6 separate regions of the Homo sapiens genome follow, and regions 2, 3, 4, 5 and 6 are each linked to region 1. Evidence: promoter capture Hi-C in 16 types of primary human blood cells and fetal thymus (Javierre and others, 2016). All regions are on one chromosome and are shown on one strand. Each heading gives the region's core, a stretch centred on a gene start or on the middle of the fragment in contact. The rest is flanking DNA. Distances are from core to core; before and after follow the strand shown. Region 1 holds the start of LINC02332 (long intergenic non-protein coding RNA 2332). Region 2 holds the start of PRMT5 (protein arginine methyltransferase 5). Region 3 overlaps RBM23 (RNA binding motif protein 23). Region 4 overlaps REM2 (RRAD and GEM like GTPase 2). Region 5 has its middle 250 kb from the start of TRD-AS1. Region 6 has its middle 14 kb from the start of LRP10.

What was found. The method cuts DNA at HindIII sites, captures the fragments that hold promoters and counts their contacts. A CHiCAGO score of 5 or more calls a contact.
Region 2: a contact is called between the fragment with the promoter of PRMT5 here and the fragment with the promoter of LINC02332 in region 1, in 1 of 17 cell types (total B cells). The highest score is 5.5, in total B cells.
Region 3: a contact is called between a fragment that was not itself captured here and the fragment with the promoter of LINC02332 in region 1, in 12 of 17 cell types (total B cells, naive B cells, erythroblasts and 9 more). The highest score is 16.2, in total B cells.
Region 4: a fragment that was not itself captured here is called in contact with the fragment with the promoter of LINC02332 in region 1 in 6 of 17 cell types (total B cells, naive B cells, neutrophils and 3 more); the score reaches 8.3 in total B cells.
Region 5: a contact is called between a fragment that was not itself captured here and the fragment with the promoter of LINC02332 in region 1, in 1 of 17 cell types (total B cells). The highest score is 5.3, in total B cells.
Region 6: a fragment that was not itself captured here is called in contact with the fragment with the promoter of LINC02332 in region 1 in 17 of 17 cell types (M0 macrophages, M2 macrophages, megakaryocytes and 14 more); the score reaches 20.9 in M0 macrophages.

What each region holds. Positions count from the first base shown.
Region 1 is chr14:22,555,410-22,558,721 of GRCh38, reverse strand. It overlaps LINC02332 (long intergenic non-protein coding RNA 2332), which reads left to right and starts at 1,660. Exons shown (of 3, transcript NR_146543.1): 1 at 1,660-1,771; 2 at 1,869-1,930; 3 at 2,200-2,411. It overlaps LOC105370399 (a long non-coding RNA gene), which reads right to left and starts at 2,156. Exons shown (of 2, transcript XR_007064066.1): 1 at 1,156-2,156. RefSeq lists enhancers at 1,055-1,264, 2,125-2,464, 2,515-2,614, 3,195-3,312 and a silencer at 1,965-2,014. The HindIII fragment of the contact is 9,123 bases long and covers 1-3,312 here.
Region 2 is chr14:22,927,612-22,930,923 of GRCh38, reverse strand. It overlaps PRMT5 (protein arginine methyltransferase 5), which reads left to right and starts at 1,548. Exons shown (of 17, transcript NM_006109.5): 1 at 1,548-1,672; 2 at 2,309-2,427; 3 at 2,713-2,798; 4 at 3,264-3,312. The coding sequence starts at 1,563. PRMT5-DT (PRMT5 divergent transcript) reads right to left here and starts at 1,315. Exons shown (of 3, transcript NR_110002.1): 1 at 1,172-1,315. TRR-ACG1-3 (tRNA-Arg (anticodon ACG) 1-3) reads right to left here and starts at 1,223; the gene lies at 1,151-1,223. RefSeq lists a silencer at 1,095-1,184 and an enhancer at 1,595-1,704. The HindIII fragment of the contact is 19,261 bases long and covers 1-2,740 here.
Region 3 is chr14:22,909,997-22,913,308 of GRCh38, reverse strand. It overlaps RBM23 (RNA binding motif protein 23), which reads left to right. Exons shown (of 14, transcript NM_001077351.2): 2 at 1,906-1,981. The coding sequence starts at 1,916. Among named protein-coding and RNA genes, the nearest start is that of RBM23, 7.5 kb to the left of the region's middle. The HindIII fragment of the contact is 1,288 bases long and covers 846-2,133 here.
Region 4 is chr14:22,886,173-22,889,484 of GRCh38, reverse strand. REM2 (RRAD and GEM like GTPase 2) reads right to left here. Exons shown (of 5, transcript NM_173527.3): 4 at 3,254-3,312; 5 at 1,807-2,871. The coding sequence ends at 2,576. Among named protein-coding and RNA genes, the nearest start is that of REM2, 4.6 kb to the right of the region's middle. RefSeq lists an enhancer at 1,048-1,147 and silencers at 2,378-2,707, 2,948-3,017. The HindIII fragment of the contact is 5,549 bases long and covers 1-3,312 here.
Region 5 is chr14:22,230,927-22,234,238 of GRCh38, reverse strand. It overlaps TRA. Among named protein-coding and RNA genes, the nearest start is that of TRD-AS1, 250 kb to the left of the region's middle. The HindIII fragment of the contact is 1,617 bases long and covers 748-2,364 here.
Region 6 is chr14:22,856,197-22,859,508 of GRCh38, reverse strand. No RefSeq gene overlaps it. Among named protein-coding and RNA genes, the nearest start is that of LRP10, 14 kb to the left of the region's middle. The HindIII fragment of the contact is 4,412 bases long and covers 1-3,312 here.

The DNA of each region.
Region 1 (3,312 bases), core at 411-2,910:
AGCAGAGAAGCCCCCAGAGGTTGAGAGGGGAGATAAGACGTGAGCCTTTTCAGCTGTGATGTGGTGAGGAGTCAGGGAGGCCGTGAGCACTGTGGGGCCAGAAGTGTTGGCTTCTGTCAGAAACTCGGCCCAGCCTGACCGCTGCCTCCTGGCCCTGTCATTTCCCCTCCATCACGCGCTTCCTTCTGGAAGCCGGAAGCAGGAGGTGGGAAGCTGCGGAGGTAGTGACAAAATCATGGTGTAACAAGAAGCTCCTAGGGCCGAAGTGACTGGAGAGGTGGCCACATACTATGAGAAACACCAGCGCACCGGCAGGGCCTGGGGAGTTCTGAGCTCTCCCGGGCTGTGTGAAGCCGCAGCCAGCCCACTTTTTTCTCAGTATGGCAGTGCCATCTGACCTGGCCCAGCCCATCTTGTTCGGGTCATGGTTCGTCTTCCTGGGCATTCTGATGCATTCCCACTTCATATTTGCACTGGGATTTCAGTTTACTAAGCATTCCACACCCATTACTGCTTTCAATCCCTTCAACAACACTGAGAATAGGTGGGCAGGTATTTTTATCTCTATGTGAATAATAACACATGGGGACTCAGAAAAATTAAAGGCCCCAGGAGAGAAGGCTAGTGAGGGGCAGTGACGCTTAGGGACAAACAACTGGTTCTCCTGCCTCCTGCCTGAGGACTCCTGCCTGAGGAGAATATAGTAACAAAAGCCTCTGTCTTGCAATTGCAGCCATTAACACATCTCTTTCATACCCACTACTCACTGGACTGTTAACTCCTTGAAGACAGAAACTCTGTGTGTGTGTGTGTGTGTGTGTGTGTGTGTATTTAATGGGAGCAGTACTTTCTTGAGGCATAATTACATGAAAATACACTAATGATGCATTTGATATATATATAGCCATCACCCAAGATAAAGATATGGAACATTTCCACCACCCCTGAAGGTTTCCTCGTGCCCCTTTTCAATCCATCCTTCTACCCCAGAGGCAAACAGTGCCCTAATTTCTATCACCTGTGATGCGTTTTGCCTGTTCTTGGACTTCATCTGTATGGAGTCATAGTTTGCACAGAGACTGAATCCCCAGAGCACGACACAGCCTGGCACATGGCAGGTATACAATGCCAAAGAAAGCCTGGTTCTTAAACTACCTGTGAGAGAGAGTTCGTCCCACCGGGAAACTGAGGCGGTGGGCGGTTAGTGACCTGCCAAAGGCACGAGTGTATGATGTGGTGGATCCCGGACTCCAGCCAGCCTAATTCCGAACCCAAGGCCTCCTCCGGGCCCCCAGCCCTCCCTGGGCACTTCCTCCAGGGCTCCGGGTGGAGCGGGTCTGACGATCCCGGACGAACAGCGCCCCCTGCTGCCGGCCCAGGCCCCAGGCCCTCCTCTCCTTTGGGGGGGGATGTGACAGGATGACACAGGCCTTGCGCCCAGCGCAGTGACGGGCACAGGGCAGGGACTTGTGGGATAAAAGTCACCTGCCCTTTTATTTTCCTCGGAAAAGAGCTTTTCCTAAACTTTGGGGGCTTTCTATCTCCAGAATTAACAGACAAAGGGAGAAGAGGTCTTTTTGGTGGAGCGCTGCTGCCCCCATGCGGGTGGATGGCGACACTACCGAAGAGCAGGCGATCAAGCCTGGTATTTTTGGGTTTCAGGTTCTGCGGCTCCCTGAGACCAGCAGATTCCTGGTCTCCGGGTCCCTGGGTCCCGGACGTGTCCATCAAGGCGTCCATTAGGGCCATCACCTAATGGACAAGCATCAGGGTAAGGGGGGAGGTGCTATTGGGGGGGGGTCCCTCAGAGAATCAGCCCTAGCTCTGTGTGGGGGCAAATACGGCCTCCCCACCTCCTTCCCTCCCAGGAGACACTGGCCTGAGCATAAGTCTCGAGGGTCTGCCCTGTACTAAGCAAGCGCTTAATCAGGTGAGATCAAGGTCTGATCTTGGCTGGTTTGGAGGGGCAGCAGAGGTGCGGTGAGGGAGGCGGCTCAGCGGTGGGGCCAGCAGCACCTCCCCAGCCTGCTTGCGGGCCCGGTGCAAGTCACCGAGGGGCCGGCAGCCCCTCCCAGCCTGGCATGTTGGCCTTGCTGCACCTGCGGTTGGGGGGTGGTGTAACGGCCCAGCCTGCTCCCCTCGGCACGTGGCCTGGGGCGATGCTATCTCTAACTCAGTATTTTAAACTCTTCTTTCCAGAGGATGTGGCTTCTGCGGGAGAGCTTCAAAGGGTGCCCTACTTGCCCCTCTTGGTAACCATGACGTCATGGAAATGGGAGGGGACCGCCCCAGCCCCCAAACACCTGGAGGGAAGTGGGAGACTTTTTCCACTTCCTGTTCTACTTGTGGCTACTGACTCAATGTCTGACCTGTTTATTAATTGCAAAATATAGCTCTATGTGTGCTACCCAGAGAGGCCTCAGGCCTGTGTGTCTCTGTGTGAAAGGAGGCCTGCACTCCCCACCCCTCGCCGCGTTGCCCAGGTGGCCTTGACACAGACGCAGGGCGCTGGTGGTCCTGCAGCCTTCCGGCAGCCAGAATGACAGCACTGGGTCTCCATGTGCTTGCTCCCCCAGACTCATCCCAGTCAGAAGCTCGTCTTCCCACACATGGCTCACGGAGGTAGATGGGTTTTAGAGTAGGACTCATGGAGAAACTGAGGCGAACCCACATAAAGTGACTGTTGGCTCTGGACCTCAGTGTGGTCACACAGTGAGGTCAGACTCCCAGGTACCCTGCGTGATTTACCACAGTCCCTGTCCTCCAGGCTTTGTTGGATAGATGTGTGCCTGCCTGGGGGCTGCCCTGAGCAAGGGGCCACCACTCAGGCTTTCCTTGTTCTGAAGTTCTTGACAAGTTACTTTAGCTCTTGGCAAAACTGTGAAGCATTGACTCACCTGACCACTTCCTCTACTAATCCCCACTTTCCTTTCTCCTGTACTCCCCACTCCTCACACTCAGCTCCCCCCACCCAGAGCCTAACTGCAGGAGTCATTCACTTATTCATTTAACGGCATCTGTTGTGTGCCAGGCACTGTTCTAGTTCCTGGGGACACATTGATGACAAGGGACATTCCCATCCCACAGAGCACACAGGCCAGGGGACTTCCACACTAGGATGGTACCTGATAATAAGGTGCTATAGGCCTGTCTGTATACGTGATCCCAGGGGAGTTGAATTTTATGTTTGGACCTAAAAAATAAGCAACTCCTTAAGACTCAGATGGCTGCCCCCAGTGAGGGTAGCAGCAGAGGGGTTGCTCTGTCAGAGCTGAAGACCTCACCAGGATGCTCCTGAAGCACGTGCTTGCA
Region 2 (3,312 bases), core at 299-2,798, 370 kb before region 1:
CAGTTCTCCTGCTTCAGCCTCCCGAGTAGCTGGCCGAGTAGCTGGGATTACAGGCGCCTGCTACCACGTTTAGGAGAGACGGGGAGTTTTCATGTTGGCCAGGCTGGTCTCGAACTCCTGACCTCAGGAGATCCACCCGCCTCCGCTTTCCAAAGTGCTGGGATTACAGGCGTGAGCCACCGCGCCCGGCCGGTTTTCCGGCTTTCATTCTTTTGGGGCACTTGCATTGCACCCAGGGTTCCCCAGAACTTATCCTACCCCACACCCTTTTCGTATTTCCTATGGCTCTGTCCCCAACGAGCTATGGTGATCTCAGTCGCATGGCCTCAGTTCTTTTCTTCTAGCGACCTCCATCCAACTTTCTATTACACAGCGCCCCCTAGACGTTCAATTCAGCATGACCAAACCCAAACCCTGATTTCCCAAACCCTCTTTCCGCATTTCTTGCTCACTGCATGGACAGAATCCTAGGCATCACCCCCTACTTTGCTTTCTCAGGACTCCTTGCCAGTCGGTCCCTAAGTTCTGCCAGCGGCGCCTGCGTGGGGTCTCTTGTACCGTGTTCTCCTCTCCATCCTTGCTGCCGAGCCCTCAACACCAGTGGGCCCCCTGCCTTCTGGAGTTCCCATTTACCTCCCTATGTCTTTCCTTGCTTCCTTCCTTTCCATCTCTAGCAGCTAATGACATGAGAAAATGTAGATTCTCTCTGGCCTCCATGCCAGCCAATTTCATGACTGCTGCCCACTGTAATTAATGAATTCCTTTTCTCTATCTTGAGGTGTGTGTGTGTGTTTAGGCGTTTATTTACACCTTTTGTGTTTGAAACACAAAACACTACTTCCTAGAATCACTAGGAAGTAGTAGCTGAGTTAGCAGTTTATTTTAATATGTAACATAGTAAGGTGACAAAGCTCATTTTAATAGCACCAGCCATTAACCCAGTTTTCTCAGTGTTCATATGGACGTAAATAATGACACAAGAAAAACACTTTTGAGGGTAGTTACGGGAAAAGCTGACATTACATGGCTGCATAACCCAACCGACTCAGGATCTGATAATGAAAGCGTGAAGATAATAAAGAAGCATCAAGCTGCGAAAGGAAAGGAAAATTACAAAATGCTCACGCAGCGAAGCTGCGAGGAACCCCACCGAGCCAGCCAGGAGTCGAACCTGGAATCTTCTGATCCGTAGTCAGACGCGTTATCCATTGCGCCACTGGCCCTGAGATGGCACTGTTTCTCTCCGTGATGGTACTTCAAGGTTATACTGCAGGGTTTCATGGGCGGTGTAGTCTCTCAACGGCGTTCTTCAGATAGACTAAGCATTCTGGGAGATTGAAGTTCGTCAGGAACCAGACCCTGAGATTGGTGGATCCATGCCGTACGCCACTGTGCAGCCCGCGGATTGGCAGGAAAAGCCACTCCCCATCCCTCCTGTTCGGGAGCTGTGGCAGACGCTCTGGTTGTTAAGGCGACTCGTCCCGCCTTCTGGGGCACTAGTTTGACTTTGTGATTGGCTACTAGTATCAAGGAATCCCGGCGTGGACAGCGCGAGGAGAAAGATGGCGGCGATGGCGGTCGGGGGTGCTGGTGGGAGCCGCGTGTCCAGCGGGAGGGACCTGAATTGCGTCCCCGAAATAGCTGACACACTAGGGGCTGTGGCCAAGCAGGGGTGAGGGCCGGACCTCCACGAGCGGAATGCGGGGTCCGAACTCGGGGACGGAGAAGGGCAGACTAGTCATCCCGGAGAAGCAGGGGTGAGGGGGTCGGCTAGGATGAGGAGGGGAGAGACTATTACTCTTTGGAGGGGAGGAGCCTCGGACCCAGTAACGTGAGGAAAATAACTTGTGGGAGGCCTGTGGTCACTGAGTCCCAAAGTTGGGAGAGTTGTTGGGTAAACTCTAAAGGGCCCTGGAGGTCGCGATTATTGTCTGGGAGTGGGAGGAGGTGTTAGGGGGCAAGGGAGAGAAGAGGCTAATTTTGACGGGGGAGGCATGGGCAGAACTGGGGCAAATCTGGATGTGATGGTCTTGGAAACATACTGACACCTGAGGAGAAAAAAATTCTACTTGTGGATATCCATCATTTTCTCCTTACTCATATGTCCCATGGCTGTGTTTTAGGGAGAAATTGAGGCACAGTACAGCAGAGTTGATATCCCCCAAGGTGGTCTGAACTCAGCAGCCTAGTAGGCTGAACTGATGGCAGCTGAAAGGGCTGTGCAAAATCAAGATAGCCTAAATCCAGTTGCTTGGCTCTCTGGCACTGCTGCTGTCTTTACATGATTCTGGGTCTGTCGCGGTTGTAGGTTTGATTTCCTCTGCATGCCTGTCTTCCATCCGCGTTTCAAGAGGGAGTTCATTCAGGAACCTGCTAAGAATCGGCCCGGTCCCCAGACACGATCAGACCTACTGCTGTCAGGAAGGGGTAGGGACCATCCCATATGCCCCTTAATTATTAGAGGCAATAACAACTTCTGCTTTATCGGGGCCCTCATTCTCCTCCTTTTCTGACTTGGATATATTTGTTAGTCCCTGGGATATAGATAACTTGTTTTCTCCTTGCTTCTCTATTCTGCATCAGGCTATCCCATGTCTATGTAGAAAAAACCTTTGTCTCTCATTTCTACTCTTGATTCCCAAAACTAAAAATTGAACAAGTAAAGTGCTGAACCTTATTCAGTATTTGTCTTTCTTGGGTGGGGGAGTGCAGACTGGAATACGCTAATTGTGGGAAAGCTTTCTCCATGGATTCGTCCAGACTCAAAAGTGGAGAAGATTCGCAGGAACTCCGAGGCGGTAAGACTGTTTGACTTCTCTGCTGGATTTTTCTAACCAAGCTGGGTGGGGAGAGTGGTCCCCTCCCATCCCCAATAACTTGGTAAATTAACTGATAGAATGAAATTAAAGCTATTAGGCTGGGTGCTGTGGTGCACACCTATAATCCTAGCACTTTGGGAGGCTGAGGCTGTAGGATCACTGGAGCTCGGGATTTCGAGACCAGCCTGGGCAGCGTAGTGAAACCCCATCTCTATAAAATATACAAAAATTAGCCAGGCATGGTGGTGCATGCCTGTGGTCCCAGCTACTCAGGAGGCTGAGGAGGGAGGATCAGTTGAGCTTGGGAAGGTCAAGGCTGCAGTGAGTGGAGACTGTGCCACTGCACTCCAGCCTGGGTGACAGAGTGAGACTTTGTCTCAAAAAAAAAAAAAAAAAAGCTGTTTGCTTGTTAGCTCAAACTTTTCCTCTTCATCTCCGTTCCAGGCCATGTTACAGGAGCTGAATTTTGGTGCATATTTGGGTCTTCCAGCTT
Region 3 (3,312 bases), core at 240-2,739, 350 kb before region 1:
CCGAGTAGCTGGGACTACAAGCACCCGCCACCACGCCCGGCTAATATTTTGTATTTTTAGTAGAGACAGGGTTTCACTGTGTTAGCCAGGATGGTCTCGATCTCCTGACCTCGTGATCCGCCCGCCTCGGCCTCCCAAAGTGCTGGGATTACAAGCATGAGCCACCGCGCCCGGCCTTCTTGTGCCCTTTTAAAATCTTTTTCTCCCAGCCCTTCCCCTTACTTCTATCCCTAGGCAACCATTGATGTGCTTTCTGCTTTCTTTGATATAGTGATTAGTTTGCTTTTTTTTTTTTTTTTTTTTTTTTTTTGAGACTGAATCTCACTCTGTCTCCAGGTTGGAGTGCAGTGGCACAATCTTGGCTAACTGCAACCTCCGCCTCCTGGGTTCAAGTGATACTCCTGCCTCAGCCTCCCGAGTAGCTGGGCCTACAGGCGCGTGCCACCACGTCCAGCTAATTTTTGTATTTTTAGTAGAGACGGGGTTTCACCATGTTGGCCTAGATGGTCTCGATATGTTGACCTCGTCGTTGACCTCGTGATCTGCCCGCCTCGGCCTCCCAAAGTGCTGGGATTACAGGCATGAGCCACCGCGCCTGGCCTAGTTTGCATTTTTTAGAATTTTATGTAAATGGAATTGTTCATTGTGTACTTTTTGTGGGGGGGGCTGGTTTCTGTCACTCCGTGTAATTATTTTGAGATTCATCCATGTGTGGGTTGATAATTCCAGACCAATAACATTTGAATAATTTATCCTATTGGTTTTCTTTGGTATTTTCTGTTTTTCTTATTTGACAAACTGGTGGTAGACAGCCTGGGGAGAGGCAGTTTCTAGATGTGAAAGCTTGGGGAGGCACGTTTTACCTTGCCTGCCAGAGAGAAAGGTTTCAAGATGGGATTAGTCGAGCCTGTCTTAATCATCATATTTCTGAGTTACCTAAACTGTAGTTGGTATTGGTTAGAAAATGCTCAGGGATAAGGCCCTAATTATTGGTGTTCAGGGTATGCGGAGAGGAAGACGTTAGGGCAAATCTGCATTTTGGTGTTGCTTTGACTTGCTTCTGATTTTTAGTCGTGCCTCTTTATCTTTTTATTGGACATAATGTGCCTATATTTGTTTATTATTTTTTCGTTTTATATTTTTCTCACATCTGTAGCAGCCAGGCCTGTTTTTATTATTTGAGTTTAAACCAGGTATTTATTCAGAATTTTGAACAGTAGAGTGGAGACCTAATGTCTATTTTATAGTGAACAGTAGTTTGGCCACCATCATTTTCTCTTCATAGAACAGGATCAGTGTTGTATTTTGTTTCTTCCTAGATACTCAGTTTTCTTCTATATCCTTGACTATTTTTTTATGTATTGTTTTTTGTGTTTTTTGTTTGTTTGTTTTGTTTTTGAGACAGGGTCACACATTGCTGCCCAGGCTGGAGTACAGTGGCGTGATCTTGGCTCACTGCAACCTCCACCTTTTGGGTTCAAGTGATTCTCCTGCCTCAGCCTCCTGAGTAGCTGGGATTACAGGTGTGTGCCACCACACCCAGCTAATTTTTATATTTTTGGTAGAGGGGGTTTCGCCATGTTGGCCAGGCTGGTCTCAAACTCCTGACCTCAGGTGATCTGCCTGCCTTGCCCTCCCAGAGTGCTAGGATTACAGGTGTGAGCCACTGCGCCCGGACTATCCTTGACTGTTCCAAGCCACAAAGTCGAACTAGTTCAGATCTATAGGGTGTAAAAATAAACCTAGAGTAAGTGACAGCTGGTAAGGTTTCTTTGCAGTTCAAGAAACAGAACTGAAATCTGTATATCCTGAAGTCTCTTTCTTGGAGTGGGAAAGAAATGTGTGGTGCTGGAAAGGGAGGAAAAATATAAAACAGATTCTTACATATTAATATCCTCTCCCCAGATCTGACAGGATGGCATCTGATGACTTTGACATAGTGATTGAGGCCATGCTGGAAGCTCCCTATAAAAAAGAAGAGGTAATATTTTCCACCTCACTCCTGGAATTGGGTTAATGAGAAAGAGTAGTTGTCGATCATCACTTTCAACTTTCAACATTTTATGAATCCTCTTTCCCTGCTTATTTATTATGTAGAATAACTAATCATAAAAGGCATAGTCTTAGTAAGCTTTGCTGGAGACTATGGTTAAGAGCCATACTTTTAGAGACAACCTCAGAAACCGGAGTGGGCACATAATGTGGTGTTGGTAATCTGTGCTTTGCTCAAAACTCGAAGTGACACAGTAGAAAGTCACTGTACCTCAGACCTAGCACCAATTTCTTTTTTTTTTCTTTTGAGACAGAGTCTCGCTCTGTTGCCAGGCTGGAGTGCAGTGGCACAATCTTGGCTCACTGCAACCTCCGCCTCCTGGGTTCAAGCCATTCTCATGCCTCAGCGTCCCAAGTAGCTAGGATTATAGGCAAGCACCACCATGCCCAGCTAATTTTTGTATTTTTAGTAGAGACGGGGTTTCACCATGTTGGCCAGGATGGTCTTGATCTCCTGACCTTATGATCCACCCACCTTGGCCTTCCAAAGTAATGGGATTACAGGCGTGAGCCACTGCGCCCGTCCCAGTTTCTTTTTTAATATATTTTTTATAGAGACAGGGTCTTGCTATGTTGCCTGGGCTGGTCTCGAGCTCCCAGGCTCAAGCGATCTGCCTTGGCCTCCCAAAGTGCTGGGATTACAGGAGTGAGCCACTGCACCTGGCCCACTTAACAGCAATTTGCTTGCTTGCTTGCTTGCTTTTCCCTCCCTCTGCCCTCTCCTCCCATCCCTCCCTCCTTCTCCCTTCCTTTCCCCCCCACCGCTTTCTTTTTTCCTTTCTTTTTTTTTTTTTTTTTTTTTTTTTGAGATGAAGTTTCACTCATTGCCCAGGCTGGAGTGCAGTGGCGCGTTCTCAGCTCACCACAACCTCTGCCTCCGGGTTCAGGCGATTCTCCTGCCTCCCAAGTAGCTGGGATTACAGGCATGTGCCACCACCCCTGGCTAATTTTGTCTTTTTAGTGGAGATGGTTTCTCCATGTTGGTCAGGCTGGTCTGGAACTCCTGACCTCAGGTGACCCGCCTGCCTTGGCCTCCCAAAGTGCTGGGATTATAGGTGTGAGCCACTGCGCCCAGCCTCTTTTTTTTTTTTTTTTTTTTTTTTTTGAGACAGAGTCTCACTAGGCTGCCCAGGCTGGAGTGCAGTGGTACAATCCCAGTTACTGCAACCTTTGCCTCCCAGATTCAAATGATTCTCCTGCCTCAGCCTCCCAAGTAGCTGGGACTACAGGCGTGTGCCACTATGCCTGGCTAATTTTTGT
Region 4 (3,312 bases), core at 343-2,842, 330 kb before region 1:
ACTCCAGCCTGCGTGACAAGAGCAAGACTCCATCTCAAAAAAAAAAAAAAAGTATCAAGCAGACATGAAATCCCAACTCTACTGCTTACCGGGTAACCTCAGGCAAGTTACTTACACTCTGTTTCTTCTACTGTTAAACAGGTAGTAACACCTTATATAGGTTTTTTTTTTTTGCTTGTTTGTTTTTTGAGATGGAGTCTCACTCTGTCGCCCAGGCTGGAGTGCAGTGGCACGTTCTCAGCTCACTGCAACCTCTGCCTTCTGGGTTCAAGCTATTTTCCTGCCTCAGCCTCCCTAGTAGCTGGGATTACAGGCGCCTGCCACCACGCCCAGCTAATTTTTGCACTTTTTAGTAGAGATGGGGTTTCACCATATTGGCCAGCTTGGTCTCGAACTCCTGACCTTGTGATCCACCCACCTTGGCCTCCCAAAGTGCTGGGATTACAGGTGTGAGCCATGGCGCCCGGCCCTTTTTTTTTTTTTTTTAAAGAGACAAGTTCTCGTTCTATCACCCAGGCTGGAAGGCAGTGATTGCAGCTCACTTCAGCCTTGAACTCCTGGGCTCAAGTAATCCTCCCACTTCCTGAGTAGCTAGGACTACAGGTGCACTGCTTTTTTTTTTTTTTTTTTTTTTTTTTTTTTTGACAGGGTCTTGCTCTGTTGCCCGTGCTGCAGTGCAGTGGTACAATCACAGCTCACTGCAGCCTTAACTTCCTGGCTCAAGGGTTCCTCCCAGCTCAGCCTCTCAAGTAGCTGGGACTATCTGAATGACACCACACCCAGCTAATTTTTTGTAAAGACAGGGTTTTGCCATGTTGCCCAGGCTGGTTTCAAACTTCTGAACTGAAATGATCCTCCTGCCTCAGCCTCCCAAAGTGCTGGGATTACAGGTGTGAGCCACATGCCTGGCCAATTTTTATATTTTTTTTTGTAGAAACTGGCTCTCACTATGTTTCCCAGGCTGGACCTTATATAGTCTTTAAGGAATTAACAGATAAAGTGTATAAAGTCCTAAGGATAGGGCCATTATTCATCTTATTATAAGTACCCATGCTGGGATGGTCCCCTTGGCTCCTCCCCAGCTACAAGGACTCAGGAAGCATTGCAACCCTCTTTCCATCAAGTTCTGGGAGGCTGTGTGGGGTAGAATGGAGGCTGGCCCTCAGGTGCTCAGGTAGCTGTATTGTATGTCTAGGGGTGGTGAGGGGAGCTGCTGCCTCTGCTCCCTTTGTTCAAACTCATGGCTCAGGCAGCAGCAGGCGTGGGCGTCCCCAGGGGAGGCAGTGACAGTTTCAGTACTCACACGGGCTTTGCAGGTGACAGCTGGGGCTGTGGAGCCCTGCCAGAGGAGGCACAGACAGACCCCCATCACGCCACAGCTGATGGGCTTCCCTGGTGGATATGGGCCCCACTTTGAACCAGCCCAAGTCAAAGCTGAGTACCGCTGGGAGCTAAGTGTAGCCTCTAGCCTGTTCCCTGCAGGATAGAGTGGGGGTAAGGAGATGAGGCTCAGAATCTAGAGATTTGGTCCCACTGTGTCACTAATTTACAAATGACTTCTAGGAGGTCCCTGTTCCTCTCCAAGCCTGTTTTCTCATCGGCAAACGCAAGAAGTGGACCTGATTATCTGTAAGGGCCTGTGGCCCTATGACATGGACTACCCCAGGCCAAGTCAGTTCCAGAGCCTCCTTAGAGAGTTAGGTTCCTTGCTCCTCTGGGCCTGAGTTTTCTGGTGGGTAACAGCAGTTTCCATCAACACCCATTCCTTCCCCAAAGACTCCAAGAACAGAGTCAAAAGTGAACAGAGGCAGTACAAAAATTATTTATTGAAAAGGGAAAGGGTGGCCCCTTGCTGGTGCCCCCCTGGCCCTGGCCAAAAGGGGTTGCCACTGCTCATTATCTGAATGCAGAAAGTCTGTCCACCCCTTACCTTTAATAACCTTAAAGGGGAAGTGCCGTGGTGGACTGGTAAGTCAAGAGAATCCATCTCAGGAACAGCACTTCCAGGCCCTTGCCTTTAAGAACTCCTTAAAGGCAAAGTGGACACATGCCGCACCAGATGAGAGCCAGAACGTTTTCGGGAAGGTCCCTGGAGGAAGTGTTTTCGTGTCTTTACCTTTAAGACTCTCTTAAAGGTGAGGCATGTTCACGCAGCGTACAAAGGAGGCAAACTCCGTCAAGGAGTCTACGAAGCACTTTTCCAGATCTTGCTTTTAGAATCTCTTTACAGATGAGGTGGCCAAGCGCGAATTAATAAAAAACAAAATACCTTGCAGAATTATTTTTCTTCCCGACCCAGCAGAACCCGCCCCGCTCACCGGCCGCCTTCAGGTCTGCGTCCTCGCCTTCTAGGCGCCCTGAGGCCCAAAGCTCCAGAGAACGCGTTGGGGCGGGTGTGGAGGTGCCGCCGAGCGGCCCCGGGCCGCCCCCGGCGGTCACACCGGGGCATCCTGGGAGTTTTTGGTTTCCTAGACGGCCTCCACCAAGGAAGCCGGACGGGGGCGGGGCGGGGCGAGGGGGGGCGAGCGGAGGGCGCGGTGACCATGGCGACCGCAGTGGCCATGGCGACCGCGGCTCAGAGCACCGAGAGGTCGTGACACGACCTGGAGCGCTGCTTGAAGAACTTGGCGTTGCGCGGCACCAGGTTGGCGAGGAACCTCTTGGCTTTCTTGGTGAGGCTCTCGCGGCGTGCAGGTGGCGCAGGGCCCTCGGGGCTGCCCGGATCGGGCCTCTGGCCTCCGGCGTGGTTTCGGCCCCGCCGCAGCCGGATCTGGCGCACCGCGCCCTCGAAGAGCTCCCTCGTGTTGTGGTGCAGTGCGGCCGACGTCTCGATGTGCTTGCAGCTCAGCGTCCCGGCCAGGTGGCGGCCCTCTGCAGGAAGGCACCGGCTCAGGCGCCCGCTGGGCTGTACGGGACCCGGGGCGAGGGTGGGTCTAGGGAGGGCCTGGGCGTGCGGTGGCAAGGGATTGGTACTAGTGAATCTTGCAACCGAGAGAACATGGCTGAGCTCATATGGTGGGTCTGTGGAGGTGCGAAGGAGAGGGAGAAGGAGGCCTAGGAGAGAGGTGAGGGGAAGTGACAAGAAGGGATTCTCAGGATCCTCGAGTGGGGCATTGGGAGTGTCCCCCTAGCCTGGGTCTGATTGCAAGTGAGTGCGTCCGCGATGGTAAAAAGGCCTTAGGGAGAAGAGGTGACTTGGAAGGGAGAGCATTCCCCTGAGATCGCAAGTATGGAATCTGTTCAGGATACACACCCTCCAGTGATACCTCCCGGGAGCGGGCCAAGTCGCTCTTGTTTCCAACGAGGATAACG
Region 5 (3,312 bases), core at 307-2,806, 320 kb after region 1:
TCTCTAACTGTATGTCAAGAGCATTACTATGTTTTTAGTATTATTAACTCATTAAATAGTTGTAAAGTATTCAGTCAAGTTGCCATCCAAATTCCTCTAACTGGTTGAGAAATTTTTACTATTTTCTTGCCTAGAGGGTTTTTTCTACTTAAAATCAATCTTTAATATAAATTCTGAGAAATGGATCAAAGGTGTTCATTCAGTTTCAAACAGTTCAAAGGCATGAACTGTTTAATGAATCTCAAAATCCCTTTCCAAGTAATTCACTGTGTAAAAGATTGTACCAATATATTGTGTTGCTACCAGCAGGGTGTGAAAATAACTTTGCACAAACTGAAAATGAAAAAGATTACATATTTTATTTTATGCATTAGTGAATGTTTCCCATAGTTCATTGTTTTTAAAAGTTAGTTTTAAACAGATCTTTGAAAATTATTCTCTAATAAAAGTATTTTTCACTTTTTTATAAAAGAAATTATTGTGATATTATTTGCATATTTGTCCCAACCCACATCTTATGTTGAATTATAATCCCCAATGGTGGAGGTGGGGCCTGGGGGGAAATATGTGGATCATGAGGGCAGATCCCTCATGACTTGGTGCTGTCTTTGCAATAGTGAGTGAGTTCTCACAAGATCTAGTCATTTAAAAGTGTGTGGCTCCTCCCCCTCACTCTCTCTGTCTTGTGTCTGTTCTGGCCATGTGACATGCCTGCTCCCCTTTTGCCTTCTGTCATGATTGAAAGCTTCCTTAGGCCTCCCCAGATGCCAGCACCATGCTTCCTGTAAAGCCTGAAGAGCCATAAGCCAATTAAACCTTTTTTTTAAATAAATTACCAAGTTTCAGGTATTTCTTTATAGTGGTGCATGAAAGGCCTAATAAAGCAAATTGGTACTGAGAAGTGGGGCATTACTATAAAGATACCTGAAAATGTGGAAGCAGCTTTGGAACCAGGTAACAGGCAGAGGTCTGAGAAATTTGGAGGGCTCAGAAGACAGGAAGATGAGCGAAAATTTGGAACCTCTTAGAGACTGGTTAAATGATTGTGACCAAAATGCTGATAGTGATATGGGCAATGAAGGCCAGGCTGATGAAATTTCAGATGGAAATGAGGAACTTATTGGCAATTGGAGCGAATGTCACCCATGCTATTCCTTAGCAACAAACTTGGCTGCATTGTGCCCCTGCCCTAGGGATTTGTGGAAGTTTGAACTTCAGAGTGATAATTTAGTATATCTGGTGGAAGCAATTTCTAAGCAGTGAAGCATTCAAGAGGTGACCTGGCTGCTTCTAATAACCTATGCTCAGATGCAGTAGCAAAGAAATGGCTTAAAGCTAGAACTTGTATTTTAAAAAGCAGAGTGTAAAAGTTTGGAAAATTTGTAGCCTAGCCATGTGGGAGAGAAAGAAAAAGATTTTTCAGGAAAGGAATTCAAGCAAGCCTCAAAGCAACTGCTTGCCAGAGATATTTGCATAACTAAAAGACAGCCAGATAGCCAAGACAATGGGGAAAAGGCTTCAAAGGCATTTCAGAGATGTTTGCAGCAGCCCCTCCCATCACAGGCCTTGAGGCCTAGGAGGAGAGAATGGTTTCAGGGGCCAGGTCCAGGACTCTGCTGCCCTGCACAGCCTCAAGACACTGCTCCCCACATCCTGGCCACTCTGGCTATGACCCAAAGGGGCCCAGGTACATCTCAGGCTGCCACTTTGGAGGGTGCAAGCCATAACTCTGGGCAGCTTCCATGTGGTGTTAAGCCTGCAGGCACACACAATGTAAGAGTGAAAGAGGCTTGGCAGCCTCCACCTAGATTCAAAGGATGTATGAGAAAGCCTGGGTGCCAAGGCAGAAGACTGCTGCATGGGGAGAGCCCCCACAAATAACCTCTACTAGGGCAGTGTGGAGGGGAAATAGGAGTTGGAGGCCCCACACAGAATCCTCACTGAAGCACTGCCTAGTAGAGCTGTGGGAAAGGGGTCACCATCTTCCAGATCCCAGAATAGTACATCCACTGGCAGCTTGCACCCTGTGTCTGGAAAAGCCAGACACTCAACAACCTATGAGAGAAGCTGTGGGGGTGGCACCCTGCAAAGCCACAGAGGTGGAGTTGCCCAACGCCTTGGGAGCCCACCTCTTGAACCAGTGTGTCCTGGATGTGAGACATGGAGTCTAAGGAGATTATCTTGGAGCTTTAAGATTTAATGGCTGCCTTGCTGGGTTTTGAACTTGTATGAGACCTGTGGCCCCTTCTTTTGGCCAATTTCTCCCTTTCGAAATGGGAATGTTGACCCAATGTGTATACTCACATTATATCTTGGGAGTAAATAACTTGTTTTTGACTTTACAGACTCATTGGTGGAAAAGCTTGACTTGTCTCAGATGAGACTTGGGACTTTTGAGTTAATTCTGGAATTTGTTAAAACTTTGGAGGACTATTGGGAAGGTATGATTGTGTTTTGCAATGTGAGAAGGAGATGAGACTTAGGAGGGATCAAGAGTGGAATGATATAGTTTGGATATTTGTCCCCATCCAAATCATGTTGAATTGTATTCCTCAGTGCTAGAGGTGGGGCCTGGGGGGAGGTGTTTGTATCATGGAGGTGGGATCCCTTATGGCTTGGTGCTGTCTTTGCTTTAGTGAGTGAGTTCTCACAAGATCTGGTTTAAATAAAGTGTGTTGCATCTTCCCCCTCACTCTCTCTCATTTGCTCCTGCTCTGGCCATGTGACATGCCTGCTCCCCCTTTGCCTTCCACCATGATTATAAGCTTCCTGGGGCCTTCTGAGAAGCCAACCAGATGCCAGCACCATGCTTCCTGTAAAACCTGCAGAACCATGAGCCAATTAAACCTCTTTTCTTTATAAATTACACAGTCTCAGGTATTTCTTTATAACAGTGCAAGAATGGCCTTATACATATTTTTTAAGGTGTCATTTGCTGTCTGATTTCCAAGCCCTCCTAGTGACTGGGGCAGTTACTCAGCAGCCAGTGTGGTGCAGGCTTCACTGTGAACTGCTAGACCTTGAGGTTTCCGGCCTGCAAGCAGTAAGGTGCTAGTGCTGCTGCAGACTATTGAATAAGGCTCTAAATTAAATCTTCCTTCCTCTTTTACCTTTCATCTATCACCAGTCCAAACAAAGATGCTAGGCTTTGCTCACATCCAGATTAAATGATAGGATTCTGTTAGGAGTGTAGTTTGAACCAGTGCAGGAAGTGGCAGGTGCCCTCTTCCTCTACCAGGTGGGCTGAGGACCCACTGCCTCACTTGGCCTCTCTTCTCCATCTAGGGAGGTCAGATCTGACACCAGAACATG
Region 6 (3,312 bases), core at 401-2,900, 300 kb before region 1:
ACTGTAACCTCCACCACCTGGGTTCAAGCAATTCTCCTGCCTTAGCCTTCCGAGTAGCTGGGATTACAGGCATGTGCCACCACGCCCGGCTAATTTTTTTGTATTTTTAGTAGAGACAGTGTTTCACTATATTGGCCAGGCTGGTCATGAACTCCTGACCTTGTGATCCGCCTGCCTTGGACTCCCAAAGTGCTGGGAGCCACCGCACCAGGCCCATGCCCACTAATTTTAAAAATTTTTTTGTAGGATGGGACCATGCTATGTTGTCCAGGCTGGTCTTGAACTCCTGGCCTTAAGCAATCCTCCCACCTCGACCTTCTAGAGTTCTGGGATTACAGGTGTGACCCACCATGCCTGGCTCTTAAGATTCTTAAAAACTATATCGTTAGGCTGGGTGCTGTGGCTCATACCTGTAATCCCAGCACTTTGGGAGGCCGAGGTGGGTAGATCACATGAGGTCAGGAGTTTGAAACAGCCTGGCCAACATGGTGAAACCCTGTCTGTACTAAAAATACAAAAATTAGCCAGACATGGTGGTACGTTCCTGTAGTCCCAGCTACTCGGGAGGCCGAGGCAGGAGAATTGTTTGGACCCAGGAGGCGGAGGTTGCAGTGAGCTAAGATCATGCCACTGCACTCCAGCCTGGGTGACAGAGTGAGACTCTGTCTCAAAAAAAACCAAAACCAAAACCAAAAACCAAAAACCCCAAAAACCATATTGTTAGACTAAATGGTTTCCTGAGTACCACCTTAGATCCTTCTGATATTAACAAAGCATGTTACACTCAATCTTGGCTTTGTCTTTATACCATGTTTTCCTGAGAGTGCCCTGAATTTGATACTTGCCCAGAAGCTATTTAAAAAATTTAACATCATTTACTGTCTGGAGAGGCTGAGAATTTTAAAATCCAAAAATTCCTGGCTCTCTTTTTGTTTTTCTTTTGAGACGGAGTCTTGCTCTGTCGCCAGGCTGGAGTGCGATGGCGAGATCTCGGCTCACTACAACCTCCGCCTCCTGGGTTCAAGTGATTCTCCCGCCTCAGCCTCCCGAGAGTTGGGACTACAGGTGAGCGCCACCATGCCCAGCTAATTTTTGTATTTTTAGTAGAAACGGGGTTTTACCATGTTGGCTAGGATGGTCTTGATCTCTTGACCTTGTGATCTGCTCGCCTTGGCCTCCCAAAGTGCCTGGATTACAAGCGTGAGCCACCATGCCCGGCCTCCTGGCTCTTTTTAAGTGGTATTTTTTTTTCTTAGCTATCTATCTCGCACTTTACTATAAGCAGCAAAGAAGAAACCAGGTGTTAACTTCAACATTCTCCCTGAAAATCTCCTTAGCTAGATTTCCCATTCATTAATTACATTTTTTACTTTCCATGTTACTACACACTAACTATAGTTGCTAAACTTGCTGAATAACGAGAATCCTTTTTCTTCCAGTTTCTTTTTTTCTTTCTTTTTTTTTTTTTTTTTTGAGATGGAGTCTTGCTCTGTTGCCCAGGCTGGAGTGCAGTGGCACGATCTCAGCTCACTGCAAGCTCCGCCTCCCGGGTTCATGCCATTCTCCTGCCTCAGCCTCCCGAGTAACTGGGACTACAGGTGCCCACCACCAGACCTGGCTAATTTTTTGTATTTTTAGTAGAGATGGGGTTTCACTGTGTTAGCCAGGATGGTCTCAATCTCCTGACCTCGTGATCCGCCTGCTTCGGCCTCCCAAAGTGCTGGGATTAGAGGCGTGAGCCACCGCGCCCGGCCTCTTCCAGTTTTAAAACACATTTTCCTCACTTTCCTTAAGTCTTCACTGGCCGCCTCTTCAAAGACCATCATGTCTGGGTATGGTGGCTTGTGCCTATAATCTCAGTGACTTAGGATCAGTTGAGGCCAGGAATTTGAAATCAGCCTGGGCAACATAGCAAGACCCTGTCTTTAAAAAAAAAAAAAAAGAGGCCACTGTGGTTCTACTAACTGTCGCGTCCAGGCATTTTAGACTTTCACTAACACTCTTCTCAAAGTCTTTCCAGCTTCTGCCCTTTGCCGAATTTCAAAGTCATTCTTACATTTTAGTTGTTTGTCACAGCAGCACTCCACTTTTAGTACCCAAACCTATTAGTTATCTATTGCTGAATGAGAAATCATCCCAAAATTTCACAGCTTAAAATATAAAATAAACATTTATTGTTGTAATCATTTTATATTGGCCAGGAATTTGAAAGTGACTTACCTAGATGAACCTGGCTTAGGATCTCTCATTAGGTTGCAGTCCAAATGTTGGCCAGGACAGTAATCATCTGAAGGTTTGACCGTGGCTGGAGGATCTGCCTCCAAGATGGCTCACTCATATGCCTGGCAAGTTCATGCTGGCTGTTGGCAGGAGGCCTCAGTTCCTTACCTGTGGACCTCTCTATAAGACTTCTTGAGTGTCCTGCAGCATGGCAGCTAGCTTTCTTCAAAATGAGTGATCCAAAAGACAGCAAAACATATTTTTGATTTTAGATTTTAGATTTTTATAATGTCTTTTATTGCTTATTATTCTTGGAAGTCACACACTGTCACTGCTGCCAGACTCCATTAGAAACAAGTCACTGGCCAGGCAGGGTGGCTCACACCTGTTATCCCAGCACTTTGGGAGGCTGAGGCAGGTGGATCACCTGAGGTCAGGAGTTCAAGACTAGCCTGGCCAACATGGTCAAAAATTAGCCTGGTGTGGTGGCATGTGCCTGTAGTTCCAGCTACTCTAGAGGCTGAGGCAGAATTGTTTGAACCCGGGAGTCGGAGATTGCAGTGAGTGGAGATCACGCCACTGCACTCCCAGCCTGGGTGACAGAGCAAGACTCTATCTCAAAAGAAAAATAAATAAAAAAATATTTATTTAATATATAATAATAATGAGTATTTATAATAATATATAATAATAATGAGTATTTACACTGTACTAAAATACCACGTCCTTCCTTTACGCCACTGCAGTCTTCCTTCCTTTCAGTTAGAGTATGAGCCAAAGTCTTTACAATGACTTACAGGGTTTTATGGGATGTCACCCCATGACCTGTCTGATCTCCTCTTCTATTGCTGTCTTCCTTGATCATTCTGTTCCAGCCACACTACCTTGTTCACTAAGACATGAATATGGGAGCCATGTACTCACCTCAGTCTTGGCATTTACTTCTGCTTTTGCTTGGAATGCTCTTCTTCCTGAGAACCACTTGGTTTGTTCCCTCATATCCTCAGGTTCTTGGTGGGGCCTTCTCTGACCCCAGTGTATAAAATTACACCCCCAACAATGTCTATCTCCCTTCCTCAATTAATTTTTCTC